Regions from separate parts of the Homo sapiens genome. Here regions 2 and 3 are each linked to region 1. Evidence: promoter capture Hi-C in 16 types of primary human blood cells and fetal thymus (Javierre and others, 2016). All regions are on one chromosome and are shown on one strand. Each heading gives the region's core, a stretch centred on a gene start or on the middle of the fragment in contact. The rest is flanking DNA. Distances are from core to core; before and after follow the strand shown.

Region 1 (2,670 bases), core at 76-2,575:
TTAATTAAAATGTATGCAGAATGTATCCTGAGGTATTACTCTAAAGCAACAATTACAACATATATTCAAAGCCTTCCATTTCAGTACATATAGATTTGAAAATTCATTTTATTATGCAATGATGGCATAAACTATTAAATCACACTGCTCTATACTCTTGTTTCAACGAAGACTAGGAAAAGGCAGATCAGGCCGAGCGCGGTGGCTCACACCTGTAATTCCAGCACTCTGGGAGGCCGAAGTGGGCGGATCACCTGAGGTCAGGAGTTCGAGACCAGTCTGGCCAACATGACAAAACCCCGTCTCTACTAAAAATACAAAAATTAGCCGGGCCTGGTGGCACGCGCCTGTAATCCCAGCTACTTGGGAGGCTGAGGCAGGAGAATCACTTGAACCTGGGAGGTGGAGGTTGCAGTGAGCCGAGATCACACCACTGCATTCCAACTGGGCAACAGGGTGAGCCTCTGACTCAAAAAAAAAAAAAAAAAGAAAAGAAAAGAAAAAGGCAGATCACACGGGTTAACATTTTTAAATGTAAACTAAAGCTTAACGTTTTTAACATTTCTGAAATGGTCTAATGTCTAAAACCTCAACGTTAATACTTGTGTGCTCACAGGAAACCAAACATTGTATTCAGTAGGAAAGAGGAGTTGAACAGCTTATCTAAGAAACCACTTGTTCTTCAATTAGCTTTCATCTTGCTCTGGTCTTTTATTTTGTTTGCACTGCAGTTTTCCTCATAAATAATAAAAAGATCACACGTATTCAGTCAGGTAAGAAAGATCCTCTCGCTCTTATTTTAAGGAGCAATCGTCCTCTACTCCCCAACCCATGTCAAGGAGAGTCCAAAGGAATGGGACCCCTACTCTGATCCAGGACACCTCTTGGCCTGACCCATCTTCGGTGCCGGTTGGCCTGACCCATCTTCGGTGCCGGAGGTTGACACCCGCCCACCTTGGGCCTCCTCGCCTCCCTCCCGTAGAGCCTTCAGCCTACAACTCGGACCCGCGCCCGCCGGAACCTACGGGGGCGCCCGCGCGGGAGCCACCCCGCCCCCAGCCCGCCGGCGCGCGGCCGACGCGCGAGCACGACCCGCCAACCCGACGGCCGCCGGGGCCTCGGCGCCGGTCCCACCCGGTCCCAGGCTACGCTCTGCGGAGAGCGCGGCATTCGAGACAGCGCACTCGGGCTTCTCCCGCACGGTCAGCGCTCGGGCGCCAGCAGCAGACGGAGGGGCAGAGCCGGGTCGGAGCGGAAAATCACGCAGCCCGGCCCGGGAACCGACCTGTGGAGACCGCCATCTTCTCCTGCAGCCCGACGCAGCCGCCCGCACGCACGCACGAACCGTCGCGCGTCACTTCCGGGAGCGCGCCGCCCTGCACGCGTCACAGCGGACTCCGCCCCCGGCGGGCGCGGGGCGACCCGAGGGACAGCGCGCACGTGGGCCGAGGGGTCGCGGGGCCTCGCTGCTGTTTCCGCAATTCCCTTGTGAATCCCGCTCTCAAAATGAAACGCTAAAGAATAAGTTCATGAGGGCCGGGCGCGGTGGCTCACGTCTGTAATCCCAGCACTTTGGGAGGCCGAGGCGATCGGATCACCCGAGGTCAGGAGTTCGAAACCAGCCTGGCCAACATGGCGAAACCCCGTCTCTACTAAAAATACAAAAATTAGCCGGACGTGGTGGCGCGCGCCTGTAATCCCAGCTATTTGGGAGGCTGAGGCACGAGAATCGTTTGAACCGGGGAGGCGGAGGGGCAATGAGCCGCGATTGCGCCACTGCACTCCAGCCTGGACAACAGAGCGAGACTCCGCCTCAAAAAAATAAATAAAAATAAGTGGGCATTGACAGATTTGCGTTGATAAACGATTCAAAAGAGTTGGACAATAAATTTGAACAGCTAGGGATGCTGAGGTGGGAGGGTCACGTGAGCCCAAGAGGTGAGGCTGCAGTGAGCAGAAATCGCTGCACTCCAGCCTGGGCAACAGAGGGAGACTCCATTTCAAAAAAAAAAAAGAAAGAAAGAAAAAGGAAAGTAATACAGGCTGGGCGCCGAAGCTCACTTCTGTAATCCTAACACTTTGGGAGGCTGAGGCAGGAGGATGGCTTGAACCCAAGACTTTGAGACCAGCTTGGACAACATAGTGATACCTAGTCTCTACATAAAACTGAAAAAAAAAAAAAAAAAAGATTTTTCACATCCCTTGTAGGTTGTATTCCTAGGTATTTTTATTCTCTTTGTAGCAATTGTGAATGGGAGTTCACTCATGATTTGGCTCTCTGTTTGTCTGTTATTAGTGTATAGGAATGCTTGTGATTTTTGCACATTGATTTTGTATCCTGAGACTTTGCTGAAGTTGCTTGTCAGCTTAAGAAGATTTGGGGCTGAGACTATGGGGTTTTCTAAATATACAATCATGTCATCTGCAAACAGAGACAATTTGACTTCCTCTTTTCCTAATTGAATACCCTTTATTTCTTTCTCTTGCCTGATTGCCCTGGCCAGAACTTCCAATACTATGTTGAATAGGAGTGGTGAGAGAGGGCATCTTTGTCTTGTGCCGGCTTTCAAAGGGAATGCTTTTGGCCGGGCATGGATCCCAGCACTTTGGGAGGCGGAGGCGGGCGGATCACGAGGTCAGAAGATCAAGACCATCTTGGCTAACACAGTG
Region 2 (2,670 bases), core at 76-2,575, 4.7 Mb before region 1:
CAGGCTAGGAGTGCAGTGGTGCCATGATGGTTCACTGCAGCCTCGACCTCCTGGGCTCAACTGATTCTCCCACCTCAGCCTTCTGAGTAACTGGGACCACAGGTGTGCATCACCACGCCCAGCTAATTTTTGTATTTTTTGTAGAGAAGGGGTTTCACTACGTTGCCCAGGCTGGTCTCCAACTCCTGGGCTCAAGCAATCCTCCTGCCTCGGCCTCCCATAAGTGCTGGGATTCCAGGTGTGAGCCACTGCACCGAGCTCCAGCAAGATTTTTACATTCTAAATTGGGTTATATTTGTAATAATGAATGTCACTAATAAGAGGAAGTGCAAGTACCAATACGTTCTTTACAGGCCTCATACTGCAGTTTTTCTTTTCTTTCTTTTTCTTTTCATTCTTGGTCATACTGCCATTTTTCTTAGCCAATTTTCTGGCCAAACTCCTCCTCACCACTTATTTTCTGTGTGCTGATGACTATGCTTTACTACTAAATTTGGCTCTTTTGTCTTGCCAGTTCACACCTTCCCTTAAGGCATAATAACCATTTACTACTTAATTTTCGCTTTTCTCCTCTATCTTGCTGGGGTGGTGTAATAAAATTCCAGCTTAACCAATAAGTAAAATGGCTTGCCAGTGATGATAAAGACCACATTTGTTTGGGATATGTAGCAGCACAAATTTAAAAGTAAATAAATAAAACAAGCCCATCTCAATCCTAACTTACAGATACTGGTCAGTGTGACTGAAAACTGAAATTGTTCATGCTAACCAACGTTTTTCAGTTTCCACCTAACATTTTGTTCAGTTTGGTGCCCTCTTGTGCCTCCTATTTTTACAAACACAACTCAGAATTCCTGATGACTTTAGAGAAGGCACCTCCAAGTTTTCACTCATACCAGATATTCCTGGATATAACAGGAATTTGAGAACTATTATGTAATTATTCTACGTGTAACATCTGCTCATCAGATTTTAATATTCAAGCCTCGTGGCTTCAAGTCATTGCCTGTGACTGATCATCTTCACAAATGCAAGAGTCCCCTGAAACTGTCTCCCAACCATTAGGGTGCTCATGCTAACCCCTAACCCACTAGACCCACTACAAGATTCAGTATTTGTAAAGCTGAAAACGTGGTTGTGGCGTTTACATTTTCATTCCGATTGGCCTAGGCTTCCCTCTCTTCTCTCTTGCATGTTTTCTTGCCTTACCTGGTCTGAGAAATGGTGCCGCCCCACCCTTGCAGAGTTAACAGGGGGACGCTTGCCAGCTGCGTGCAGTCCCGGCGGTCCGGATATGCGGGGAGGTGGCGGCAGGAACGCCTGGGCCAGGCGCTGGTACGTTATCCTGTTACAGACCTTGGCCTAGTCCGCAGGTTGCCCCTGGAGAGGCGACGGGGACACCAGACCCTCGATTGGCTCCGCTCCTCCGCGACAGGCTGAGGGGAACAAGCTCTCTTTCGCCTGGGGACGATCCAGTGTTTGGTGGGTCGACCTTAGTCAGGGCCTAGCTGTCGCAAAGAAGGTCAAATTCACCTTGGGAAAGTACGCACCGGGACGGCAGCTAGCACCATAACAGGCGGCCCCAGCGGAGTCTCCCAGGGTCAGGCCAGGACAGCCAACCTGCCGGCCGGAGAGCCGGAGGCGGGGCCGCCCCCTTCCCGGCAGGCTGCCGACTTCCGGACCTGCGTAGACGCCTCTCTGCGCCTCCAGGCGCGCCCCTCCCCCGGCAGGCCGTTTCCCGGCATGCGCCGCGGAGGAAGAGACGGAGTCGACAATAACAAACCAAGCCGCGGCGGTGTCCGCGGCCCTGCCGAGCCCTCGGCGTTGCCTCAGAATCCCCCAGTCGCCTGGGCCCCTCGGCTCTGACAGGCCGCGGCCTTCTGTCCCCCGGCCCCAGACCCAGAGCCGAGGGGCCTGCTCGCGTCCTTGTCCGCCCGGACCCCTCCCTGCCTCCTAGAGTTCGGGGCCGCGGCGGGCGGGCGCCCGGGACGCCGGCGGTTGTGTCGGCTTAGCGGTGCCGAATGGGCGGTTGGTAACCGCTGCCGAGGACTAGGCGGCGGCGGAAGATGGTGCCGGGGGTCGCTGGCTCTGCTGCTGCCGCCGGCGAAGGAGGAGGCGTTGCCGGGTAAGTGTCGCCGCCGCCCGCGTCCCCTTCCCCCATCTGGCACAGCGGTCGCGCGGCGGGCCCTGGCACGGTGGGCCGGGGTCGCATGGTCCAGGGTTCCGGTCGGCCTGAGCCCGGCCCACGCGCAGGTGTGTGCACGGGAGGGCCCCGGCGCCTCCCGCCCCGGCAGGTGTTGCCCACTGGCCGCTTTCCCGGCGCGACAGCCCCTGTGGAGACAAAAGCGGTTCGAGTCGATGCTCCACTAGGCTGCCGGAGGTGTGGGTCGGACTCGTGCTGCGGGGCTGCCTGCGGCTTCCTCGGCCGGAGCCTTGGGATCCCTCCCTCTGCGCTGCCGCTTAGTACCCGGCCTAGTTGCCGGAGTGGCCGAGGGCGAGGGACGTCCGAACCTCCCAAGACGCATCTTGACTTGTGCTCATCGCTGCCAGGGATCAGCCCTTAATTCTGTGTTGGACTCGAGAAACGGGAGAGTGGAGTTTGGCCGAGGCCGAACGAAGCTCACCGAATGGGAGGAACGGAGAGATGATGTCTTTGTCCCGACCCCAGAG
Region 3 (2,670 bases), core at 171-2,670, 3.9 Mb before region 1:
ATCCAAGAACCTGTGTTTTCTGCTCTTGTTTTACCTCCTATGAACGAAAAATTGTTGCCCTTACGGTTTTTTCTGCTTTCTTTGAAATGTTCCTTACAGAATAACTACATGAATGTAATCACATGCATTTAAAATAGTCTAGAGAATATAGTGTGAAACTATAATGGTATTTTTTTAGATGAGGTTTCTGGTGGCATATTACTAAAATTTTAAACTCCTTGATCTTATGCTGTTAACCAAGAAGATGGGGATTTGTGTTACTTTAGACACTGCTGGGTGCCATGGTAAATTGGGATGTTATTGTAAATTGTAGCTCTCACAGCTGCGTATTGCTTACAAACTCGGAAGGATAGTCTCATATCAGTAAACATTTTTATGAACGTAGTTGAACTTTTTTGTAAATTAGTGTGCTGGAAAGAATACCAAGAGGGCCCTAAAAAAGTCTAAAAGGATTAAAATTTACTTATGTAATTATTGGTATTTTAAAATATTTGGTAGTCACTTAAAATGCATAATGACAGACAATAGGGTGTCATAATATGGTTTATTAATCTTTTTTCATTTTCCACTAGATGTGGCAACTACATAGTTGGAAGAAATGTGGCGGCCGGGGGCAGTGGCTCACGCCTGTAATCCTAGCACTTTGGGAGGCTGAGGCAGGTGGATCGCCTGAGGTCAGGAGTTCGAGTCCAGCCTGGCCAACATGGCAAAACCCCGTCTCTACTAAAAATACAAAAATTAGCCGAGCTTGGTGGTGGGCATCTGTAATCCCAGCTACTCGGGAGGCTGAGGCAGGAGAGTCGCTTGAACCTGCGAGTCAGAGGTTGCAGTGAGCCAAGATCGCTCCACTTCACTCCAGCCTGGTCAAAAGAGTGAGACTCTGTCTCAAAAAAAAAAAAAAAAAAAAAAAAAGAAATGGGACAAATACTAACATTAATAAAGTATGGTCAGTTGTAATCTGTATTTGAGAAGAAACCAAAAATACAGGAAAAGCTTTGACATTTTACTGGCAATTGTTAAGGATGATAATTGGATTCATACCTAAATGGCGTATCTGCCATTGATTATCTCTCGGTCAACGTAACATTGGATGTTGGATGTGAGTGGGTTTTATAATTAGGTGACACAGAAATATTTCAGCCCCCTAAAGACGTTTTTAGAATATGGTAAGATTTTTTCAGCTGTTGAAGTGGGGAAGGATTGTGAATCAAACACTATGTGTATGTGTATTCTCAAAAATTAATGAGAGGTATTGCTGATGGGAAGACATAGCATATTTTCCAGTTTAACCTGAAAATCCTTTTTGGAACATTATGCACGGGTAGCCAGAAATAACTCAACTTTATGTCTTGATACAAGACATGCATCAGGTATGATTTCTAGAGCTTAAAATATTCTTGGAGTTTAAAAACTAATTTGCATAAAACACTCTTCTGTGTTTTCTACTGAGCACTCTTCAGTAACTTGCAGGCTCTTAAAAACCTTTAATGATAATCATGTTATCAATTGATGAAGTCAGTTCAGTTTATAATCTAAAGTTATAATGAGCATTGAAAGAGCTGTAGAATGTGAAATGCTGTGAAGGTCTGTCTTGGTGACTTTCACAAACTGGCATCTCCAACTCTCCCTTCTTGGGGCCTTTGTTTGTTTTTCTCTCTCACTTCCTGAAGTATAGATAGATGTTGCCTGTAGGTGTTACCTTAGGTTTAGTTCTTTTCCTTTTTAGAGTTTGTTCTCTTCTTTGGCAATCCCACACAGATCCGTGGTTTCAACTGCTCATTCCCCTCACCCTCTTTGCTCAGGCTTCCACTTGTGTATCATCAGCCTTATTTTCATTCCCAAGCTTCAGATTTGCCAATGTTGTTCTCCCTGATCAACTTAGTAGCTGTCATTTTGTAATCTTGAATCAGTAGATTCAGAATTAAACTTTTTTTGCAAGCCTGATTCTTCTTGCTTGTTTATATTAATGACCTTTGCATTTTCTTAGTCATCTAGACTCAAAATCAAAAGGTCATCCTTGGTTCTTCTCTCTCTCCTTTTCTTAGAATTTTTTTTTTTTTTGTCATCTTACTGCATTGTGGTTCCTGATTTCTTCTATCTTTCTTCAGTTCTTCCAGCAGCCATATACACAGCAAGAGACATTAATCTCTAGGTTTGTCATTCATTGTGAATACTGCTTATTAATTGTCCTAAATGTAGTCCTGATCATGTTCCCTGCCTGATGACAAGCAAACAAAACAAACCCACTTGGGTGTTTATGTCAGTCAGTGTGCTGAATCCTTTGTTCTCATGTGGTCATTATAATTTATATTATCCCCATTCTACAGGTGAAGAAATTGGAACTTCATGATCTTGAAGGAGTTGTTAGTAGGTAGAAGAGCTCTGGGATTTGAATCCCAACCATGTCTTCTTCCAAGTCTGTGTTCTTGACCACTGTGCCTCTGCTGAGTGGCTCCTGATCCACTCTGGAAGAAAGCCCGAGTTCCTCAGTGTTGCCTTTCAAAACTGCATTATTTGACTTCAGTGCCCCTTTCAAAACTTATTTCTTGTTTTAGTTTAAAATATTAAGTTACATTCTTTCTGTCCCAGCAGCTGTTCCAAAAAGAATGTAAACTTCAGTTTTACTTTACTTTTTTGATTTCTTATGCATTTCCATTTCTTGGAATTTTT

What was found. Contacts are between HindIII fragments. The CHiCAGO score rates a contact against its expected background, and 5 or more counts as called.
Region 2: a fragment that was not itself captured here is called in contact with the fragment with the promoter of UBE2V2 in region 1 in 2 of 17 cell types (total B cells and naive CD8 T cells); the score reaches 11.0 in total B cells.
Region 3: a fragment that was not itself captured here is called in contact with the fragment with the promoter of UBE2V2 in region 1 in 1 of 17 cell types (naive CD8 T cells); the score reaches 6.9 in naive CD8 T cells.

What each region holds. Positions count from the first base shown.
Region 1 is chr8:48,007,086-48,009,755 of GRCh38, reverse strand. UBE2V2 (ubiquitin conjugating enzyme E2 V2) reads right to left here and starts at 1,325. Exons shown (of 4, transcript NM_003350.3): 1 at 1,286-1,325. The coding sequence starts at 1,301. RefSeq lists silencers at 930-1,129, 1,360-1,619. The HindIII fragment of the contact is 2,629 bases long and covers 548-2,670 here.
Region 2 is chr8:52,713,530-52,716,199 of GRCh38, reverse strand. RB1CC1 (RB1 inducible coiled-coil 1) reads left to right here and starts at 1,765. Exons shown (of 24, transcript NM_014781.5): 1 at 1,765-2,125. RefSeq lists enhancers at 1,201-1,250, 1,271-1,580 and silencers at 1,641-1,810, 1,841-2,310. The HindIII fragment of the contact is 3,580 bases long and covers 1-2,670 here.
Region 3 is chr8:51,894,181-51,896,850 of GRCh38, reverse strand. All of the region lies in intron 1 of PCMTD1 (protein-L-isoaspartate (D-aspartate) O-methyltransferase domain containing 1), which reads left to right. Among named protein-coding and RNA genes, the nearest start is that of PCMTD1, 3.5 kb to the left of the region's middle. The HindIII fragment of the contact is 850 bases long and covers 996-1,845 here.